3 separate regions of the Homo sapiens genome follow, and regions 2 and 3 are each linked to region 1. Evidence: promoter capture Hi-C in human tissues and cell types (Jung and others, 2019). All regions are on one chromosome and are shown on one strand. The core of a region is centred on a gene start or on the middle of the fragment in contact, and the rest is flanking DNA. Distances in the headings are between cores, read along the strand shown.

Evidence for each region. Contacts are between HindIII fragments. The study calls those that stand out against the background at their distance.
Region 2: a contact is called between a fragment that was not itself captured here and the fragment with the promoter of MAPK4 in region 1, in 3 of the 25 tissues and cell types used here (H1 embryonic stem cells, dorsolateral prefrontal cortex and heart left ventricle).
Region 3: a fragment that was not itself captured here is called in contact with the fragment with the promoter of MAPK4 in region 1 in 1 of the 25 tissues and cell types used here (lymphoblastoid cells).

Annotation. Positions count from the first base shown.
Region 1 is chr18:50,558,699-50,561,404 of GRCh38, forward strand. It overlaps MAPK4 (mitogen-activated protein kinase 4), which reads left to right and starts at 1,389. Exons shown (of 6, transcript NM_002747.4): 1 at 1,389-1,545. The HindIII fragment of the contact is 20,188 bases long and covers 1-2,706 here.
Region 2 is chr18:50,766,156-50,768,861 of GRCh38, forward strand. No RefSeq gene overlaps it. Among named protein-coding and RNA genes, the nearest start is that of MRO, 53 kb to the right of the region's middle. The HindIII fragment of the contact is 5,709 bases long and covers 1-2,706 here.
Region 3 is chr18:50,710,645-50,713,350 of GRCh38, forward strand. The region is part of intron 2 of MAPK4 (mitogen-activated protein kinase 4); the gene reads left to right. Among named protein-coding and RNA genes, the nearest start is that of MRO, 110 kb to the right of the region's middle. The HindIII fragment of the contact is 8,453 bases long and covers 1-2,706 here.

The DNA.
Region 1 (2,706 bases), core at 139-2,638:
AATGTTCTCTTTGGGGAAGACACATTGGAATGTCTTACCACAGATATACACACACTCGCTTGTTACACACTCCTTCCTTATCCCTAACTATTCTCTGAGGTTAATGAAGGTCCTGATAACTGCAGTCTCTAACTTAGCATATCATCCTAAACCTACTACCTGCACACATAGGAGTCGCAGCGCAACTATGTACTAATGGCAGCCAACACTCATTACCCTTCATACCACCATCACTGTGCAAACCCTTAGTGCATTTTCCAATATGATCCCACAATCCTTCATTTTTATGTTTTGCCCACGCTAAAATTCGACAGCGAATTCTTGCAACAATTATTAAGCGTCTGGAATTGTATTAGGGTCTGGGGGTAGAGGTGGGGGACGAAGCGGGAATAACTGCAGTACACAGCAGACCCTATGAAAGTGCCAAAACGCAGGTCTCACTCGGAAGGCTTTGGGAGTTGGGAGAGGAGAAGGCTCATGGGCAGCTAAAGCCACCAGTGACCTCATTATGCAATATTTAGGTTATCAGACTTTTCTATGCCTAGAAAAGCAGCGCCTCAACCATTCCAACGGGACGCACCGCGTTCAGTGACGACCCTCATCGGTGCCCACAGCTCTGGGCTCGCTGAAGGCACCACAGAAGCACCAGTTATTACCAGTGTTAGGGTCCAGTGGCTTCTTCTGTCCCTTTCCTCTGGATCCCAAAGTGTTGGTTCTCTTTTGTTAGTTTTATTCCGGTCATGCCAATGAGCACAGATTCACAGCCCAGGCGGCCCGCTCGGAATCCCAGGCCGGCTGGGGACCGGTGCACTTGGGCTCCGCGCCCCCTCGACCCTCGGCCCAGTGCCCCTTCCCGCGCGCGCGGGTCTCCCCGGTTCCAGAGCCCACCGGTCCCCGCCGGCTCCTTCTCCCCACCCACCCTCCCACCGGGCCCCCGGCGGCTGCAGCCGCGCGGGGCTGGCGGGGCGGCGACCGGGCTCAGGCAGATCCCCGCTTCCCGCCTTCTCGGCGCCCCCTCCCTCCCGGACGGAGCCCGAGGATCCCCCACCCACGGCGGGCGTGAGGAAGGGCTTCTGAGTGACTGGAGCTCTACCGCGTGTGCCCCGGGAAGGCCAGGCTACCCGGGACGGGGCTCGGCTCCCCAGGTGAGCTCGTCTCCGCGGGACTGGGTCCGGGAAGGCCCCAGGACCGCGCGGCTGAGCGGCCTGGAGGCTGCGGGAGGGCAGAGCAGGGCGCGCGGGAGACTGCCGCCCCCGGGCGCCCAGGGCCCGGCTCCCCAGCGCCACCGCCGCAGCAGGTGGGGGCCCAGTGGGCGGGGGCGGGGCCCGGCTCTGGGCGGAGCCGAGGCGGCGGCGGCGCAGGCTGGGGCCGGGGCCGGGGCGGGAGCCGGAGCCCGAGCTGGAGCAGCGAGCCGGGCTGTCGGGGCGACCGCGGGAGCTCGCCGTGCGCCGTGGCTGGGACCGGCCTGGCCGAGCGCGCCGGCGCCGCGGCCGCAGACAAAGGGCGGCTCGCGCCCGGGCCGCCACGCTCTCGGGCTCTGCCTCGGTAAGTGGCTCCCCTCCGCTGGCTTTCTCCTCCCGCCGCCTGCGCCTCTCGGAGTTCGGCGGGCTCCGGAGAAGCGGGGAAGAGATGAGACTTCCCCGCCCGCACTGCCTCCCCACCTTACCCTAACAATAAGCCCCCCAGGCCAAGCCACTGCCAAACTAGCGAGTTTCCGAGCGGCGGGGGTCTCCCGCGGGACCCGCCCGGCTGCCCTGGGTGAGCTCCTCGCCTGCAGACCGCGCGCCGGTGCTGTCCTGGACCCGTTTGGGATGGGAGGTTGCCGCTGGGCTCCTCGCGTTGTGTTTAGGGGAGGAGGACGCAGGGGCCGGGCGCCGCTAGGGGACCCCACCCCCGGGGACAGTCCGGAGCGCTTGGGGTCGCCGAGGGGCAGTTCACACTGCGAGTTCAGATTCGGATCGCAGTCCCGATTATCCTCCCCTCCAGCCTCTCCCTTTCTCGTTGAAGGGTTAATACAGCGTCCTCTCCCCTCGCCACCCGACAGAGGCGCCTACACTGGCGGTAGGTAGCCCCTGGGAGAGGGGGAGTGGGGGGACCCCGCCGCTTTCGCCGCTGGGCGACCCAGAGCCCCAGCCTGCCGGAGAGGGCAGCGGCTCGGGTTTGACATCCCAGCTGGGTCCCGGGCCGGCTCCCTGAGCCTCCTCCCGGGTTGCTCTCTATCAGGAAAGCAATCGGAAGTCAGGCCGGCTTTTGCTTTTGTTCTGCCAGCTACTCTACGGAATCGTAGGTGAAGCCGGGGTGGGCGGATGCCCCGGGAGGGGGCTGTGGCGGGAGTTCCAGGTGCGTCCCCGAAATGACCATTGGAGGCGGCGGCTGTTTCCCGCCCCTGGGTGGGGAATGGATTCCGATCGCTAATCGATACCCTGGAGCCAGCAGTGGGTCAGCAGCGTCCCGACAGAGCGCAGCGGCCGCGTACTGTCACGCGCCTCTCCAGCACTCTCGAAAGCACTACCTCGAGACGTGCATTTCCATTCATGGATCTGTGCCTGGGGGTTGATTAATGTCACCCCTGCCTGGGTTGAGGAGTGTCCACAACTGCTCAGTAGCCATTTACTGGGAGGTTACTGTGTGCAAGGCAGCTATCTTAAATAACCTTAATGTAAAATATACTTATTGAGCACCTACTATGTGAAAAGCAGGTATACT
Region 2 (2,706 bases), core at 70-2,569, 210 kb after region 1:
AGCACATCTTCACATGGCAGCAGGAGAGAGAGTGTGTGAAGGAGAAAGTCCCACACACTTTTAAACCATCAGATCTTGTGAGATCTCACTATCACAAGAACAACAAGGGAGAAATCATCCCCCACAATCCAATCGCCCCACCCCCACCAGGTACCTCCCCCAACACTGGGAATTACAATTCAACATGAGATTTCGGTGGGAACACAGAGCCAAATCATATCATTCCCCAAAAGAAAGCACCTAAAGGTTCAACAAGTTGATTCATCCACCTCCAAATCCAGCATCTCTGAAAGATGAATAATTCCCCGATAGGCTTTGGCTAAAAAGGTCAGTGATTGAAGGCTGGAAAGTAAGTCAAGTACTTGAGCATGCCCAGCATGCTCATGTGAGGAGAACAGGATAATGACAATTCAAACTCCAGTTTGAGAAAGGGAGAATGGGAAACCACACGTGGTAGTCACTGGAATAGAAATAGCAGGAACTCCTGCTACGATTTGACTGTGCCTCCAAAATTCATGTGTTGGAAACTTAATCACCAATGTAGCAGTTATAGAAGATGAAGCTTTGAAGCTTTTTGAAAGGTGTTTAAGTCATGAGGACAGAGTCCTCATGAAAGGATTAATGCTGCTATAAAAAGGGCTTGCAAGAGTAGGTTTGCTCTCTTCTGTTCTTCTGCCATGCAAGGACATAAAGTTCATCCCTTTTTGCCCTTCTGGTTTCTATTATGTGACGGTGCAGCAAGAAGGTCCTCACTAGATACCAAATGCCAGAAACTTGATCTTAGACTTCTCAGCCTCCAGAACTCCAGGTTTAACATTCTATTCTCTGTAAGCAACTTAAAGATTGACCTAGGAATTATCTGCCAACTCTGTAATATTTTCTGGCAATAAAGTTTCCTTTAAATTTAATAGGCTTCAGGGGCCAAAGCACACACTTCCCAGAGTCTGAGAGCCACCTCCCTGGGACCACTCCCACTGACAGCAACCCCAACCCCCAACCCCAGCATCAGGGCTGCAGTGTGTGTGCACATATGCTGAAGACAGACTCTCCCAGTCCACCATCATGGCTGCCACCACCACCTGAATGTGCTACTAGGGAGCCTGGGGATTGCCCCACCCTGCCCACCACAGCCTGTGCCCATGCACCCCACTAGAAGGCCAGATGACAGGCCTAGGTGGCCTAGCACCAGCCACCCCCCACCTTTTGCCCAATCATGATGCCCAGAAGCCTGAGGATCATCATATCCCACCCCCCACTGCTGGCATCTATGCACTTCTCCCAGGGGCCAGAAGACAGGCCCACCCAGCCTGTTGCTACCATCACCACCAGCGCCCACCCATATGCACCACATGGGAACCTGGGGACTGGCGTGCACAGCCCATCACAGCCACTGCTAACAACAGCACATGCTGGTTTGGAGCCCAAAGGTTGTCCCACGAACACTACTGCCATTGCTCATCCCACACATCCTATCCAGAGGACTAAGGAATAACCTACTTGCCCAGCCCACCACTGCCATAGCCAGCACCTGAACAATCCACCTGGAGGCCTAAGAATCAGCCCACCTGGACCTGCTAACACCAATGTTAGCAGTGTTAACACTATGTATACCTCCCAGGGGCCCAAAGACAGGCAACCTCAGCCGGCCACTATGACCACTGGGACCTGAGAACTGGCCACCATCCCTGTCCCCAGCAAAACCTCACCATACCTTCCACTAAAAACTGCAACCTAAGCCACTGAGGAAATAACAGACACTACTGATGCTGTTTACAGCTGAAGAAATTGTACAGAGACAACACTACTATGCACACCCAGAATCAAAGCTAAAATGCCCTCCTGACCAACACCATAGATACAGCTTTAGGAAAATGTATTCCCCTATGAAAGCCAATCCAAAAAATTGGAAGAAGAGACTGTTACACCAGATGCACAGGTACTGTAATAAGAGAAATCGAAAAGCAAGGAAATATGACACCTCCAAAGTACCACAATAATTCTCCAGCAACAGATTCCAATGAAAAAGAAATGTATGAAATGCTGGGAAAATAATTCAAAGTAATGATATTAAAGAAGCTCAGTGAGGCCAGACACAGTGTCTCATGCCTGTAATCCTGGCACTTTGGGAGGCCGAGGCAGGAGGATTGCTTGAGCCCAGGAGTTTAAGAGACCAGCCAGGGCAACATAGTGAAACTTTGTCTCTATTAAAAAAAAAAAAAATTTAAAAAATTAGCCAGGCATGGTGGCACACACCTGCTGTCCCAGCTACTTGGGAGGCTGAGGTGGGAGGATCACTTGAGCCCAGGAGGTTGAGGCTACAGTGAGCCATGATCATGCCACTGCACTCCAGCCTGGGTGACAGAGTGAGAGCCTATCTAGAAGCAGCAGCAGCAGCAGCTCAGTGAGATATACAAGAACACAGATAAATGATACAAAGAAATCAGAAAATTCAGGATATGAATGAAAATTTACCAAAATGATAGATATTATAAAAAAGAATCAAAAAGAAATCCTAGAACTAAAGAATTCAAAGATAAAAACTAAAATACATTTGGAACTTCTGATATATACTAGATTAAGCAGAAGAAAGAATTTCAGAACTTGAAGACAGTTCTTTTTAAATAACCCAGACAAGAAAAAGAGAATAAAGAGTAAAAAAGAATAAACAAAGCCTACATGACATATAGTACACCATAAAGTGACCAA
Region 3 (2,706 bases), core at 113-2,612, 150 kb after region 1:
TGGCAGGCACCTGCAGTCCCGGCTACTCAGGAGGCTGAGGCAGGAGAATGGCGTGAACCCGGGAGGCGGAGCTTGCAGTGAGCAGAGATAGCGCCACTGCACGCCAGCCTGGGTGACAGAGTGAGACTCCGTCTCTAAATAAATAAATAAATAAATAAATAAATAAATAAATAAATAAATAAATTCATCATACCCCTAAGGGATTAGTAGGCACATTATCATTAAAGGGTGTAGTAGAAAGTTTATTGGATTGAGCCTTCTCCCCCAACCTTCCAACTCCCACACGCAAGAGATCAGGCAGTGGGGGCACAGCAAGGGCAGGCACAGGAGACTTGGCTCCAGATCAGAACTGGTGCCCACCCAGCACGGGCTTGCTGGAGCAGCTGGGAGTGCCCACCCTTCTGGAGTGACTTTGATCCAGGCTGTTCTGAATTCCCTGGCAGGCAGCTGGGATCGAGGGCTGCTTCCCTGCTCCCTCTGCAAAGAGAATGCTCAGAGCTTTAATTATACCTTCTCTCTATCCTTCAGGGGCCCCTAATTATGCTCCTCACAGGGCAGCTGCTGCTAGATTATTTCCCAAACACCTCTGAAGCTTTTAAAGTCAAAGCCTCCCATGGGCTCTGCGTGACTCTAAAGGGACAGCAAAATGGGTGGATGGGAGCAATAGCTGACGAAAGTCCCAAGGCCCCTTAAAAGGGTCTAGAAAGGAAACCATGTTCATCTGCCTCCCAGTGGGCACAAGGTGGCAGGAGGAAATAGACGATTAGGAAGGGGCCACTCCCATCTTGTTTCTTGTGCTCTGAGTGGTGGTCACAGAGAACTGTGGGAGTGTGCACTTCATGTCTTCTCAGAGCAGTGATGTTACAAAGCCTCACACAAGAGGCTGGCCCCAGCTGGCCTGCAACAGCCGCGTGCAGACGCACCCACTTGTGCGCCAAGTGTGCCTGCTGTCCTGCTCACTCCCTCCTTGGCCACCCTGTGCATGGGCATGCCCTGCCTGGGGAGACCAGGTCTGATCACAGAGACATGTTCCTCTCTACATCCAAAAGAAGCTGAAACTATCCTCACCCTGCAGGCTTGGGCAGAGGGCTATTTGGAGATTTTTTTTGAGCCAATATACTTATTGATTTATGAGCTCTTTTAATAAAATTGGGTCTCGACTTCTGGGTATTCTTTAAAGTTTTTTTTTTTTTTTTGTAGAAAATTATCCTGAATTTCACCCCATCCACTCGACTGCAACTCCTCTCTTGAATTCTGATCACCAGTACCATGTTGTGGGCCCCAGAGCCTCTCCCATTCGGACACCCAGGGCTCAGCTCAGCTGACAGCAGGGCCCTGGTCCACTGTGTCTGCCCCCAGACCTGGGAATGGAGCTTCCCATATATTCCCATCTCCCCTTCCTGGGGCTTCTCTTGCACCAGCTTGGCAGAAGACACTGCACCTTCCCAAATTCTTCTCAGCCTTGTGGCTTCTGAAACATATCAACAAATCCCCTTTAAGTGTCGGGCACAGTGGCTCATGCCTGTAATCCCAGCACTTCGAAAGGCCGAGGTAGGCAGACTGCGTGAGCTCAGGAGTTTGAGACTAGCTTGGGCAACATGACGAAACCCCATCTCTACAAAACATACAAAAATTAACTGGGTGTGTTGGTGTGCGCCTGTGGTCCCAGCTCCTTGGGAGGCTGAGGTGGGAGGGTCCCGTGAGCCTGGGAGGCAGAGGTTGTAGTGAGCCACTGTTGCGCCACTGCATGTCAGCCTGGGCGACAGAATGCGAGAACCTGTCTCAAAGAAAACAAAAACAAACAAAAAATCCACTTTATGTTTTTTTAAAGAGTGTGAAGAACAAGTAACCATAGGAAGATAGCTAGTAGTTAAAAATTCAGCAGGCTCTTGTTTTTCATTAAAAAAAAAAAAAGGAAGAGCTGGAAAGCAACTTTCTTAGCTCCTATCATGACCTGGTCTGTAATTCTGGCCCAAGGGCAGCCTTACCCATGTCAACATCTTTCTTTTACTTTCAGAGCAAGTGTTTCAGAAGAAAGCCCCCTGTCCCCACTGTTCTTTAACCCTAGACTCTGAGGAGAGGCAGATGTCAATTCCAGACCATTCTGTTTCATAAAAGACTGTGCATTTACATATCAGAGAAAACTCCCCTGAAGCTACCTCCCCTCTGGGTACTCTTGCTTTAGTCTTTTCCCTGACAATCTCACCCTCTGACTGAAAATAAAACCAGACTATTTTTTTAGAACCCACCCACCTAAAAATGAACTTCTACAGACAGTATTTGGCTTGTTCCTGTAACTTTTAGAATCGAACTTAAATTCCTAACAGCCTACTGTACACACACCATGGATGAGTCTCAGATGCATTGTGCTAAGTGAAGGAATTCAGACTCAAAAGGCTACATACTGTCATTCCATTTATACAGAAGGTAAAATTAGAGAGACAGAAAAGAGCAGTTGCTAGGGGCTGGGACTAGGGGTGACCAAAAGAGGGCATGAATAAATTGTTTGAGATGATGGAATTGTTACGTATCTTGATTGTGATGGTGGTGACATGACTATGCTTTTGTCAAAACTCACAGAACTGGTGAATTTTACCCTATGTAAATTATACTTCAATAAACTTGACTTTTAAAGCAATTAAACTCTTATAAAAATGACATTGGCCCATCCTTTGTTGGAACAAGATAAGGCATAAGTGGCTATCA